Regions from separate parts of the Homo sapiens genome. Here region 1 is linked to region 2. The links are contacts of gene promoters, found by promoter capture Hi-C in human tissues and cell types (Jung and others, 2019). All regions are on one chromosome and are shown on one strand. The core of a region is centred on a gene start or on the middle of the fragment in contact, and the rest is flanking DNA. Distances in the headings are between cores, read along the strand shown. Region 1 has its middle 290 kb from the start of LINC02535. Region 2 holds the start of TBX18 (T-box transcription factor 18).

Region 1 (6,816 bases), core at 1,014-3,513, 350 kb after region 2:
AGACAGAGGTATTTCAGCATGCAATTCCTATCCTACAGGCTCTTTGTTGTGATACATTTTATGACCAACTTTAAAGACATTGACCTGTTGATCTTGTTCTGGTTTTTATTCACTACATCCTTCTTAACATAAGAAAAAATCCCTTAGGAAAAGCAAGATTTTTATTTCCAAAAAAAAAAAATCTACACAGAGCCCCAGTATCCTAATAGTCTCTCTCCTGCCATATAGAACATTCACTGCTTTAAATGTATAAAAAAGGAAAATTGCACCATGAAACAAACTTGAGAGTGTGGCAAGAGTCCCACCCATGTGTTGCCTCGTGGGTGGAATTAGAGATCTAATCTACAAAGACACCTCAAGTTGCCTTACCAGATGCCCTCTGATTGGCTGAAGGCTGAGTTATGCTAAGAAGTCACTCTTTCATTGAACAAAATTTCTAATTAACACTGAAAATGTGTGGTAGCTAAGTTGCTGGTGAAGACAGGGTATCTCCTCATTCTTCTTAGCTGAAGCTAGATTAAACTATAAAAAGGGGACAATATAATTGCTCACGGTGGGGCATGGTGTTTTCTCCTGCACAAACATATAATTAGGCTGTCTTAACCTCCCCATTCAGCAATAAACACCACTTCACAGACTAATTTACAGGCAAGAGTCGCAGAAGGCTGTGGAATAAACTCTCAGGGTGACAGGCCCTGAAGTTCAGTTAAAAGAGAGCAGCTTCACTATTTCAAGTCAGCAAAAATCTTTTTGCACTTACTACAAACTAAAATGAGATTGAAATAAGGGCTATGCATTCAAAACATTGAACACACCAGCTAATAAAAAATACATTTGTGACTGGTCGTAAAAATAGAGAATGTAATTGGCTATACCCTAGAAATATCTTTTACTTACAATATTTGGGAAGACAGGGGTCTCCATAATATTGACTTTGCTAACACGTCTACATTTTTCTGTCCACCATAATTATGCATCAGTCAGCGACACCTCACTTTTGTAGCTGCCAACAGGCCTTGATTCAGGCAGTGGGAGGTAGGCTGGCTGAGGCCCGGCACTGGATAATATTTGCCTGGCAAATACTGTTGGCTTGGGGCAGTGAGGGGGAGGTGCTCTTGTAAAAAGACAGCTCCTCTAGGTTGCATCATTCTTCCCATTAAACCCCCAGGGCCGGGGATGGGGGGGCCTTTCTGAAGGGATGTGGGAGCTGTTCTTCAGCTGCCTATTTTGTCCAAAAGCCTTCTTTAAGCATGGAACACAACACAGACTCAGTAGGGGAGGTCACAGAAATAGATACATCTCTTTGTGGGAATTATGTTTTCTTCTGGCCAAAGCAAACCATCTAGACGCAGAGAGGCTGTGGTTTGACACTGGTTGGACTTCAGGAACAATTATAGAAGGGTTGCGGGCTGTGGATGCATTGAACGTGATTCATGTGGTGTGAGAGTTGGAGAAAGGACGGTAGACAAAAGCACAAAAGGGAGGCCCAGAGACCAATTAGTGGAATGAGAAACTAAAAAGTTTGGTAGATGGTTTTATCCACAGCCAAGTCTGAATTATTTATAGATTATTTTCTTCTGGATTCCCTCTCTAAGTTTGCAGAAATAAAATAGGTAATTGGGCCATATTTTCTCCCAAGTCCTTTTTTTATATCCAAATCTCGGTTCAGCCAAGATTTTCAAGGACAAGAACTGTGTTTTCACTATTGTAAGTCTGCAGGATTTGGAAGTACCCATTATAAATAACCAATACTGTGGAAGCAGCGACTGAATGAACGAATGAAATCTTCCCTACTGAAAGACTGAGAAATAAACAGGCTAATGTTACATTTTCAAGATGCAAGTAACTACAAAATCCCACTTTTATAGGTTCTTTAATGAACGAAAGGAAAATGATTGATTAAAACAAAAATAATTTAGATAAAATAATTTTAACCTTTTCTGAACAAATGCTGCACAAAGAATATCATCTAAAATATTAATTATGTTTTAAAATATTATTGATTATGAGAAACAACTTAAAAAGAAAAGCTTATAGTTACTTGTTTCTCAAGTAATGTTTTCATGAAATAAGACAACTTTAAATGGCAAACAGGAAATTCTCATCTTGATAACTTTAAACTGAGTCTGCTGTGCAGGGTAAAGATATTAGTTTTAGTGAGCATTAATTTTAAATTTTGGAAGTTAGCAGTGACTCAGCACTTTTAAAAAGTTAAATATCAAGTTTTCAATTATCTCAAACTCGCCCCACACATATAATTTTTTAAAAGAAGTTGAGATCTCCTTCAAAATTTCAGTACTGTCTATAAATTTGTGATAATATGCATAAACTACAAAAATTATAGTTGATACCTTTAAGAGAAACAGCTGTAGTTGGCATTTTATAATTTTTTGACTCATAATGCCGGCAATTCTAACTTAAGTGTTGTGTTTAACTTCCTTAATATGCGTAAGGGGGCCCCTTTAAGAATTAGGCTTCCTCAACTTTCAAACCAATTTTAAATGACTGCACAGTAGCAGGGGGATATGGCTCTGAAATGGAAGATTTTAATAAAATATATAATTCAACAGTAACTAAATATCTTGTGTTTTCAAAGTTACTGCAATTCCCCCTTTTTTTTTGAAGTTTTAAATCCCGCTTTGACTACTGGTGGTATTGCAATCAATGAAGTTTATTCAAGGAGTAATCATTGCTATTGACAAACTTAGTAAACAGTTTAAATGCATAAGTTCCATTATCAAAATATTGTATATATATATATATATATATATATATATATATATATATATACACATAAAATAAATTTAGATTTTTATATAGTCAAAAAGATTATAATGTATAGTCAGGATTTCCAATAATTTTTCATAAAATTTTTCTTTTGTTCTTAGTAAGAAAATGTCATATATCTTTTGCAGTTTTTAGATAAAACAATTGGTAAATGAAATACAGTACATTAAAATACTTTGAGGCTTTAAAAAAATAAGAAAGAAAAGTAATTTCAGTGGAATTATCATTTTAGCAAGACTAAGATCATTCCATGAAGAAGACAGAGGTGGGTACCCTGGTGAAGCCCTGGCTTGTGTATGTGCCCACACGTACACATGTACCATTTGGCAACAGACTTTTAACAAGTAAAACATCAGTAAGGCAATTTAAAAATTGTTGCCACGAATCATTCACATTCCCTCCTCGGGTGAAACATGGCAATGGTCTTAAAGTTAAACATAAGCACTGCACACACCGTAGCTATGGGGAAATGCTTGTAACCATAACCTACTGGCTTTCACAGATATCTTTAATTTAAGGCTCTGGCTGGCGCAGAGGTGAGAGCTGAAGCAAATAATGTCAAGGGAGTGAACAGTTACCTCAAAACACAAGGATATTTTCTATTGTGTAAGAAAAGGAGAGAATTAACCAAGGTAAGGAACAACTTAGTAGTTTAATTATGAGTCTTTTAATGTCTTTTCATAATCAGTTAATAAATACCTTAACAATAAAATTGAATTTAAGCTTTTAATAGGCCGTGTTGGCTTAAACCTAAACAAAGGAATTAGCAGCTCCAGGCATTGTGCAATAACTGCTCACTGTTTGGTGCCAGGAGAAACAAAGCATTTCAAGTGCGTTTTTTGTACCTTACTATAATAAACGCTTGTAATATTCCCCAATTTCTGGAGTGTAAGACGCAGATCTTATTTATCACAGTATGTGACACACCTGGCACGCGGATCAGGAAACAACTGTTTTACTTCATTTCTGTCATCACCTTCCAACAGATTTCTTTCACATTCCAATTTGGATAGGAGGACTTGACTTTCTCTCCATAAGTTCTCCATTAACAGTTTCACAGCAGAAGGCGCCATTGGTCCGCTTCCTCTCGCAGCAATTAATTACACAGAGCGGCGTGTTTTGACGCGGACCACAGCAAACGCGTCAGGTCACGGGCATTTACGCGTATCTGAGAGCAACGTCTTTATCATCAGCACGGTGCGTTCCCTGCAAAGGTAATGAATTGTCATAGTTCCTCAGACAGGCAATGACGAACACCGTGTCAAGTCAGCAGCACAAATTACCAACTTCAACTCCCTTCAGTCACTTTTATTAATATGCATTTTATTTGAGGGAGTTTTTTTTAAGGAGTTGTGTCACTTTATGCGTTCGGCAGATGAAAGGCACTTTGGCTTTCTGTGTTAGCAGCGGAGAGTGTATCAGACTTGGAGTCTTGAGCTCTGTGAGCCCTGTGAACAACTATGCACTAATAAACCTTGAAAAGCTTGAATTACACTATAACCCACAAAAATTTTCAAATTAAAAAGGCATATTTAGAGGCCCCCCGTGGATAGTGATTTTATTTAGTTTAATTCCCTCTTGTGGCCAATTAGGTAGACACCCCTGCACACAGGCACACAGTCCTAGGGGAAGAAAGTGGGGCGGGGGCGGGGGCGGGGGCGCCGGGGGGTGGCTAACTTTTTTTTTTTAATGGCAGTATATCATTCCTCCATAGACAGAAATGATTTTCCCGGCTGTTGTTCTATAAAGAACAGGGCTGTTAGAAATCAATGAAAGTGTATGCAAGATGAATTTTTATTTGGCTCAGTTTTTTAAGGCTATACAGTACTCCAGTTTCTTCCTAATTCAGCCGTAGTCAATTGCCAAGTTGAAGAATAAAAGTTAAAGTTCCACCATGACCATGACAACAGAATATATCCATTTAGTGCTCTTCAATTATCTACTGGTCAAAATAACTTCTAAGAAGGCTGCAAATGCATGGTTAATGGTAGGTTTATTTGTATCTTTTTTTAATTAATTGATTTGCACAACTTCAATGCATTTTTATCACGTATGCATTGAGCTCATTTACCCAAATGAAACTTGGATCGACACGAAAGATATATTTGTTACAAAAATTGTTCCTAGGGAGCTGCTGTTTCCATCAGAATTGTGAAATGTGCCTCCTTTTCATCTGGTGGCAGGCTCCACATGTACCATATGAAAAAGGAGTTAATAAAATGCACATTGGAAATATAAAACAAGGTCAGAGGCGACAGTTTGGCTGAAGGCCTTTCTTTAAGTGTGGAAAACAAAAGAACAAGATTGTTTTAGCAGTTGCAGCTGTTGGGAGAGGCAGCTTTGGGTGGAGAGAAGCAACCGAAGGCCCTGCTACCTGTTTCCTGAGTCTATCAGATCCAGGGTCCTCTCCCTAACACAGATACCCGGCACAGTAGGTGCCCCAAGCTTTGGAAAGTCTCAGTAGAGAAAAAGAAAAGTCTCCATCTTGTTCCCAAGAGAGCTCTGGGGACCAGAAGGATGTAGCTTGGGGAGGTGTAGGGTCAGGCTAAGGAGTGGGAGGGCCTGTGTGAGACTTCAGTCTCTAAAACCCCACAGTGCTGTGTCCTTCTCAGAGCCAGATGTGATGAATGGCATTACTGTGTGCACGTTGAAAGCCACCCTGATTGGATGCCTTTCAGTGGTAAATTTTTAAAAATAAGTACTTAAGATTCTGTGGTTGGGTCCATCGTATGCCAACCAAACCAGGGGAAAGAAAATAACATTGTCAGTCAAGCAGCTGCTTGTTCCACATCCCTTGACAGATTTGTTTTTCTTAATGAACTGACTGGTTACTTTGGCATCACTTAAGAGCTGCAAGGCAAACAGTGAAACTCAATCAGAAAAACTTTATCATTTCAGAATGAAGATAAAAGAGAAAACACTTAATAATTATGTCACAAGACAATGATAGTAGCCCACGAACCCATTAATATGTGAACATAAATTGGCTAATCAGAGTAGCTGTGACCCAGCAAAAGAAACTTTATAGTCTTTGATAAAGAATAAGAAAACCAGGTCATCCAAACAGGAAAAGACAGGCTTACAGAGAGGGACAGGCGATATGGTGGGGGCAGGGGAACTGTTTGGACTCTGAAAACATAAATAGGCAACAATCAGATGTGATTCCTCCAAGAGTTAATTCTATGATCTTGGTCGAGTACCTTTTCGCATTTAGCTCTGGTTTCCTCATTTGTGAAAAGGGAGTGATAACCTCACCTTCCCAGATTGAATAGCAGAGTGAGTGCAAAGAATTTGAGTAGGACTTGGCACATAGTAAGTACTCAATCAAGGTTGGAACATGTGCTTTCTCTCCCTTCCCTGACTCAACCCATACCTAGAAACACCCTAGCCAGCATAAACCATCACTCAGCATGGTGCGTTTGAGATCAGATTTTTGTTGTTTTAGGAAAATCTTAGCTTTTGATAGGATTTACCTACACTGGAAGTAGTGAAAGGGTCTAGGCCAATGTATTCAGAAATTCCACACATGAAAGACTGATGTGAATGGTGGAAAGGGCCTTCCACCGTACCTTCTTTCTCCCTTCCATGTTGGCCTTCATAAGATAAAGGTTGTTTCAGAAAAAAAATCCATACCCAAAATGCTTCCTCCAGACACTCACTACTCAAAATGTACTCTCAGACAGCAGCAGCAACAGCAGCAGCTTAACCCAGAAGCTTGTCAAAAATGTAGAATCTCATCCATCCACCTCCCCTGCTCCCCAACATGCACCCCTATTGATTAGATTCTGCAACAAATCCCAAGTCATCCCTATGCACATTAAAGTTGGGGAATTTTTCTAATTCTAGGCCAATTAGACCAAAATTTCTGGTGTTGGAACCCAGACACCAGTACTTTTTAAACCTCTCCACATGGTTTTAATATGCAGCCAAGTTTCAGAACCACTGTTCTAGTCGCGTTAGCAAAAATCAACCTTAAAAAACACAAAAATACTTAAACAAAAAAGAGTAGAAAAGACTATTCTTGAACTA
Region 2 (6,146 bases), core at 3,155-5,654:
GCACTAGCCTGCAAAATCCTAGTGTTTTTTTTTTTAATTGTTCAGTATCTAATCACTGTACCTGTATCTTTTGTTGTCCACTGGTACAATATCCATGGCAATGTAATATTGCTGGTGAGGATCTAATCCAGAGATCTTCACTCTCATTGCTGGAAACATGCGCCTATTTAAAAAGGCGAAGAGAAAGAGGGTTTGGGGTTTTTGTTTGTGACTAAGGATGGAGCGTGAATAAGCAAAGAAACCTCTTGGATCTCTATTTTTAATATGGATAAATTTATAGTATTCACTTTGCCAATGTAATTCAAGGAGTCAGGACATAGAACATATCAGAACTGAGATTTTTAAATGTAATTTGTTGCACCCTGTGTACATGTGTTCTGTGTTTACTGAAATGTCAGTATAGCTAAAAGTAAAATAATTTTACACTGAGGGAGTAATGGCACAAAAGAAAGCATCTTATTTTTTAAACAAAATCGATAAGCATATTTACTTTAGTAATACAACTAATAAAATGTAACAAATGGTAGAAATACAAAATTTGGATCTCTGAAAGTGATAAAATACATTATAATGTGAAATTTTTAAAGGGTTATAAAAAACCACAAGGAGCCAATGTGCCATGCTATAACCAAACAATATGTTCTTTATTGAGACAGGACTTCCTGTCTGCAGCATGGTAAAGGTGAAGTGCAAAAGTTGCTCTAAATTTGAAAGGTATAGTAAAACTTCTTTATTGAAAGCAGAAACTAAACACAACGTATATTTACCAAATCATTTCTTCCCCCGCCATACCATGAAAATGTTTTCTTACTTAACCACACTTAAAACTTTGCTAATTAAAACAGATGAAAATTTGCATTTATCCTGGCTTCCCAAAGATGCATATCAAAGGAGATGCTAGAGTAAATGCACCCATCCTTTTAAAAAGGCACAGCAGCAAAGAATACAACAGTAAATTATTGTATATAAAAAACAAATACAGCAGTTTGATTTTTAAATATCATTTAATGACTTACGTTTAAGTCCCTTCCAAGGAAATCTAATTTTTGTTAATTTAACCTTATAACAGAAATTTTAGTAGTTATTTACCAAATTTTTTTCTATAACAAAAATACCATGAAAGACTACTCCTAGAAAAAAATAAAGTCTATTACTCCTAACTAGGTATGGGAACAGTTTAATACGCTGGCTGTTTTAGTATTATTTCAGTGCACCTGTAAGATAAAGAGTAAAGGTCTTTAACTACATCCTTTATAAGACAACTATTGCTTTGTGTTGGTGAAGACTGAATTTGGATCATTAATAAAAGCTCTGTGAAAATGTAGAAGGTAGCATATGGATTCAATAAAATATGTTTTTTTGTAATTTCTAATAAGTTTGGATACTTTTTATGCTATCCAGGTTTTTACCATGTGTACTCCCTGAAAGAGTTGTGTGTGCTTTCTAAAGTTCCGTTTAAGGAAGCTTATTATTCATAGATTTCACTGCACTAAATAAACTGAAAACTTTAAAATGCAAATATTCATGTGCCTACCTCAAATTAATATGATCTGCCCAACAAATCCATTTATTTTACTAACCAATGGATGGGAAAATTTCACACTTTTTAAAAAACCGATGTACCTTTTTATAAAAAATTTTTAAGTATTCCTCAGCAAATTCAGGCTGTGTTGGATTCCATTTAGGACAAAAATAAATAAATAAATAACCAGGTACTCTAAATCTATAAACAGGATGCTTTTTAAAAATCAGGGTAATTATTCTTGCACCTATACATGATTAAACATGTATTGTGGGTGAGTCCAGTGACTTTTCCTCCTAGTCTAATATGAAATAGCAGGACAGATCATCTTATCAAATTGCCAGGATATCTTCTGATAAAGAACCAATCTGCCTGGGAGTTTCAAATCTGAAAAAGCAAATCATAGTTTACTGGAGTAAACTGCTGTTTAAAAATAAAAGAGAAAGGAAAAAAAAAAGAATGTTTCCTAGTTCCAGAACTGACAACTAGAGCCTAAATAAATACCTGGACAAGGGTAAATATGACCTCAAATTTATAACCGCCCTGAACGCAGAACATCAACCGCGACAGCTGTGGCATCAGCGGCGACAGTAATTTTCTCCCTGGCATTCAACCAGAGGGCAGTTGGACTGTGCACCGACTGCACTAGTGGTGGGTAGCCAAAGCTAGCCTCCAAAGTGAACCACGGTCTGGGGCCTGGTCCCGTTTGACCGAAAATGCTATCCAGAACCCCCACCGAGCTGCAGGCCCTTCTTCCTGATTGAGCTAGAGGTGAGTGAAGACAGGGTCTGGGGTAGGGAGGGGCGTCCACGCCAGCTTGCCCATTACCTGCCGGCCTTGGTGATGATCATCTCAGTGCCTATCTCATGAAAGCGCTTCCAGAGCTCGGCTCCCTGCAGATCCACCCGCGGGGCCTGCGGCGAGGGCAGAGGGGTCCCGGGCCGGGCCAGGGAGCGCGCCGGAGACCCCTTGGGGGAGCCTCCCGGTGACGCCAGAGGGGAAGCTCCCTGCTGGAAGCCGTCCTCACAGCCGCCTGGACAGCAAAGGACAGAGAAAGGGAACTGGTGAGGGAAACAGAGGGGAAGCCAGCCGCGGAGACGGGCCCACCTGGTGGCTGAGAAGAGGAAAATGACCGGGAGAAAAGGGGAAGCTTTGGTGCCATCAGGTCCTCCTAAAGAACAAGCCAGTCGATAGACACCCACATTCTGCCTGTCGAAGGGGCGCATTCAGAGCTCCAGTGTGGCCTGCTTGGTCCCCAAGTCCCAAGCCCGGGAGAGGCGCGCGGGCAGCGTCCACCCCACCCGCTGGGCCTCCGCAGGGCCAAGGCCCCAGCAGAAAAGGCTTCACGCCGCCGCCGGGGTCTGGGACGCTTGCCCGACGGAGTCAGAGGAGCTCCCGGGTCCAGAGTCCCCAGTGCAAACTCCGACGCAACCTGCGCCTCGAAGCGCAAGCAGCAAAAGCGCCCGGACTCTGGTCCCAAGAGCCTGGGCCTCCTTAAGCCATAAGCGTCTGCGGCGCCTCGCTTTGGGCCTTCTTTTGGGCCGGGCCGGAGGCATCTTCTAGAAGGCTCTTCAGACCCCGCTTTCGCCAAACTCCCGGCGCCCTGCGCTTCCAGCCCAGCAGAGAAAAGTGTGAAAAGCAAGCCCGCGGTCGCCGTCGGCCTTGGCAGAGAAATCAAGAGGAGAAGGGAAGGGAACCGCTCAACTACCCTTCGGGAAACCAAGTTTCCAAATATGCCGCCCTCTTCCTGGTTTGCACAAACGGTTTAGGGCATTCGTTCCGGTTTCAGGGTGGGGTATGCCGTCGCTCCCCTCCTCCCCGCCCTGTGCTTTTAAAAGTTAGGAAACAAAAAAGAGCACCCATTGGCTGGAACCCCAAGGGAGGCAGATGCAGGAAGCACAGAGCTGCACCGCTAGGCGCAGCAAACAGCCGCGGCCGAAGGCGCGGGTCGCCGAGTGGGCGGCGGCCGCCCGCGAGGCGAGCCTGGAAGCAGTATCTGAACCGTCTGGAGGGTGACCAGGTTGCGCGGCGAGCTTTGCGACTGACACGGCCAATGCGCTAGTGGCTGAGTGGCCTTGGCCATGTAGGGACGCGGCGCGCACGCACACCCACAGACTCGCAGAAGTTCAGGTTCGCGCCGGAGAGAAGTTATAGGCAGGAAGGGGCCCACTCACCCGCGGCTCCGCGCTCCAGGTCTGCGCCACTCCGAGCCGGCCCAGACGTCGCCCCAGCCGGCGGCGGGAGCGCAGCGCCTTCGTCTCCCTCAGAAGAACCCTTTTCGCCCGCGCCGCCGCCGCGGCTGCAGCCTCCGTCGTCCACGGCCCCCGCCGCCTCTTCGGCGCCCAGTTTTCGCCGCTTCTTCTGAAGCTGTTGCTGCTTCTCGGCGCCGATCAGCGCCTCCACCGAGAAAGCGTGCGCCTTGAGGCTTAGCATGCTGCACGGCGAGCCCCTTCGCTTCTCGGCCATCCCCCCCGCCCCGCGCCCGCCCGCCCCTCTCTCATATACACTCACGCGGGCACACGCGCGCTCTCGCTCTTCCCCCACCAAAAACTAAAAGGCTCTCGGGGCCTCCCGAGATCTGCCCCCTTCCCCACCGCGGGCAAAAAACAGATTTGGCGTTTCCGCTTTCTCGCTTGTGTTGGGATCCAGGAACCGGCGACGCGCCGGCCAAGTCTCCTTTCCTGGGTCTCTCTCGCGCGCTCTCTCACTGATGCACTCCTTTGCTCCCACCCCTTCCACCTCCTCCTGCTGCTCCGAGGTCTGCCTCAACTGATGCGCCAGAGAGGACTAACATGGGTAAAAAACACTCTGTGGACACAAATTAGGGATTGTAATTGAAATTTGTTGCCTTGATCTGTCAGCACTTCCAGGCAGGAGAGCGGTGGGAAGAACTTGCTCATTAGTGTCAATAAAGCGGCGGGGGCGGAGCCCGGGTCCCTGTCCATCACCCAGACGGCCGGCCAATCAGGAGGCGCCGACTCCGCGCAGCCCGCGCCCACTTCCTTACAAGGTAGCGAAAAACCAGGAGTGAAAAGCGCCGCTGTCTGGCTTGGATGTGCCAGCCACACGGACGCTGAACTCTGTCTCTCTGACGTCCGTAGCTGAGTCCAGCCCCGTAGTCTCCAGCTTTCCTCACCAGGACCTGGAAAGGCGGAAGTTCCCGGCTTTAAACTAGACGTTCAACAAGTTAGAAAATCAGGAATCTTTCAAGGTTCCGTAAATTGCCGTCCCACTTCCGTATCGCTTAATGTTGCTACAACTCAGAATATTGGGAAGCTGGGAAGAATTCGCAGGCCCCTCCTTTCTCATTTAAATGTTCCTGCACTCAGTCTGCGCCAGATATGGCTTAGGCTTATTTAAACTTTACTCCGTGATTTTTTTCTTAGGGGATACCAGGTTAAGAAATATGTAAATCCTTTAGGAGTGCAAAATGTTACGTTAACGCTCAGTCCGTCATATAAATGTCAGAAAAAGCACGCCCTTTCCGCAGCCCACCTTTTCTTTCAAAGAGTGGTAGTTATTTTAAAACGTAGGTCATGGGATTTTCATTCTGTACGTCTTTAACGATATGGACAACTTTAAAACCCCTTAAAACTTCGCAAAATGAAATAAGTATGAAGACGCAATAAAATTCCCCATTTGAAAAACTTCTCTGTGATTTAAGTAAGTTTATATTTGTCCTACTGTTGACAATTTACAATCGTTACTTCAGGCTTTTAAGGAGTCCATTGATGTATTTAAAACAAATTTAATAAAATCAGTGCTTTTTAATTAAATGACACCAAACATATATATTTGTACAATTTGTTTTGTAGTTTCAACTCGACTTTTTGTTAGGATTAACAAATATATATATATATGTTTGGTATAAATAGAGCAAATCTCTTGTGGAATAAAATTAATCGTGCATATTACTCCATCTTTTGTATAAAATACACGGCAGGCCGGGCGCGGTGGCTCACGCCTGTATTCCCAGCACTTTGAGAGGCCTACGCGGGCGGATCACGAGGTCAAGAGATCGAGACCATCCTGGCCAACATGGTGAAACCCCCGTCTCTACTAAATAAATAAATAAATACAAATAGTAGCTGGGCGTGGTGGTGCACGCCTGTAGTCCCAGCTACTCGGGAGGCTGAGGCAGGAGAATCGCTTGAACTCGGGAGGCGGAGGTTGCAGTGAGCCCAGATCGCGCTACTGTACTCCAGCCTGGCGACGCAGCAAGACTCCGTCTCTGTCTCTCTCTCTGTCTCCATATGTGTGTGTGTGTATATATATATATATATATATGACAAAGGAATTTTTTCCTCTCCCTCGTCCCTCGTTTAATTCAATCTCCGCAACCGTTGGCTGCCCTTTTATCTCTGACTTCTCTGTAAACTTTCAGTAGAGTAGCATTTGGGGGTAGATCCGCCACTGAGACTGATCCTTTTATTGTAGAAGAGAACGCGCGGTTCCTGGAGGCCGGACACCACAGCGGGAGTAGGAACCTGGCAGGCGATGAGCAGAGGCACGAGCAAGCCGCCCAGCCAAACCTGGCAGCCTTGAGGTCAAAAATGATTTTGTAATATCCTTGCGGAGGAAGCCTCTTTTAGACGCCTGAGAAACAAACTCAGTTGGGAGGAGG

The links. Contacts are between HindIII fragments. The study calls those that stand out against the background at their distance.
Region 1: a contact is called between a fragment that was not itself captured here and the fragment with the promoter of TBX18 in region 2, in 2 of the 25 tissues and cell types used here (H1 embryonic stem cells and mesendoderm cells).

Annotation. Positions count from the first base shown.
Region 1 is chr6:85,110,550-85,117,365 of GRCh38, forward strand. No RefSeq gene overlaps it. Among named protein-coding and RNA genes, the nearest start is that of LINC02535, 290 kb to the right of the region's middle. The HindIII fragment of the contact is 3,254 bases long and covers 637-3,890 here.
Region 2 is chr6:84,760,194-84,766,339 of GRCh38, forward strand. TBX18 (T-box transcription factor 18) reads right to left here and starts at 4,405. Exons shown (of 8, transcript NM_001080508.3): 1 at 3,697-4,405; 2 at 2,351-2,555; 3 at 62-163. The coding sequence starts at 3,988. It overlaps LOC124901353 (a long non-coding RNA gene), which reads left to right and starts at 2,148. Exons shown (of 2, transcript XR_007059666.1): 1 at 2,148-2,293. RefSeq lists enhancers at 3,138-3,722, 3,723-4,306, 4,318-4,612. The HindIII fragment of the contact is 5,576 bases long and covers 2,069-6,146 here.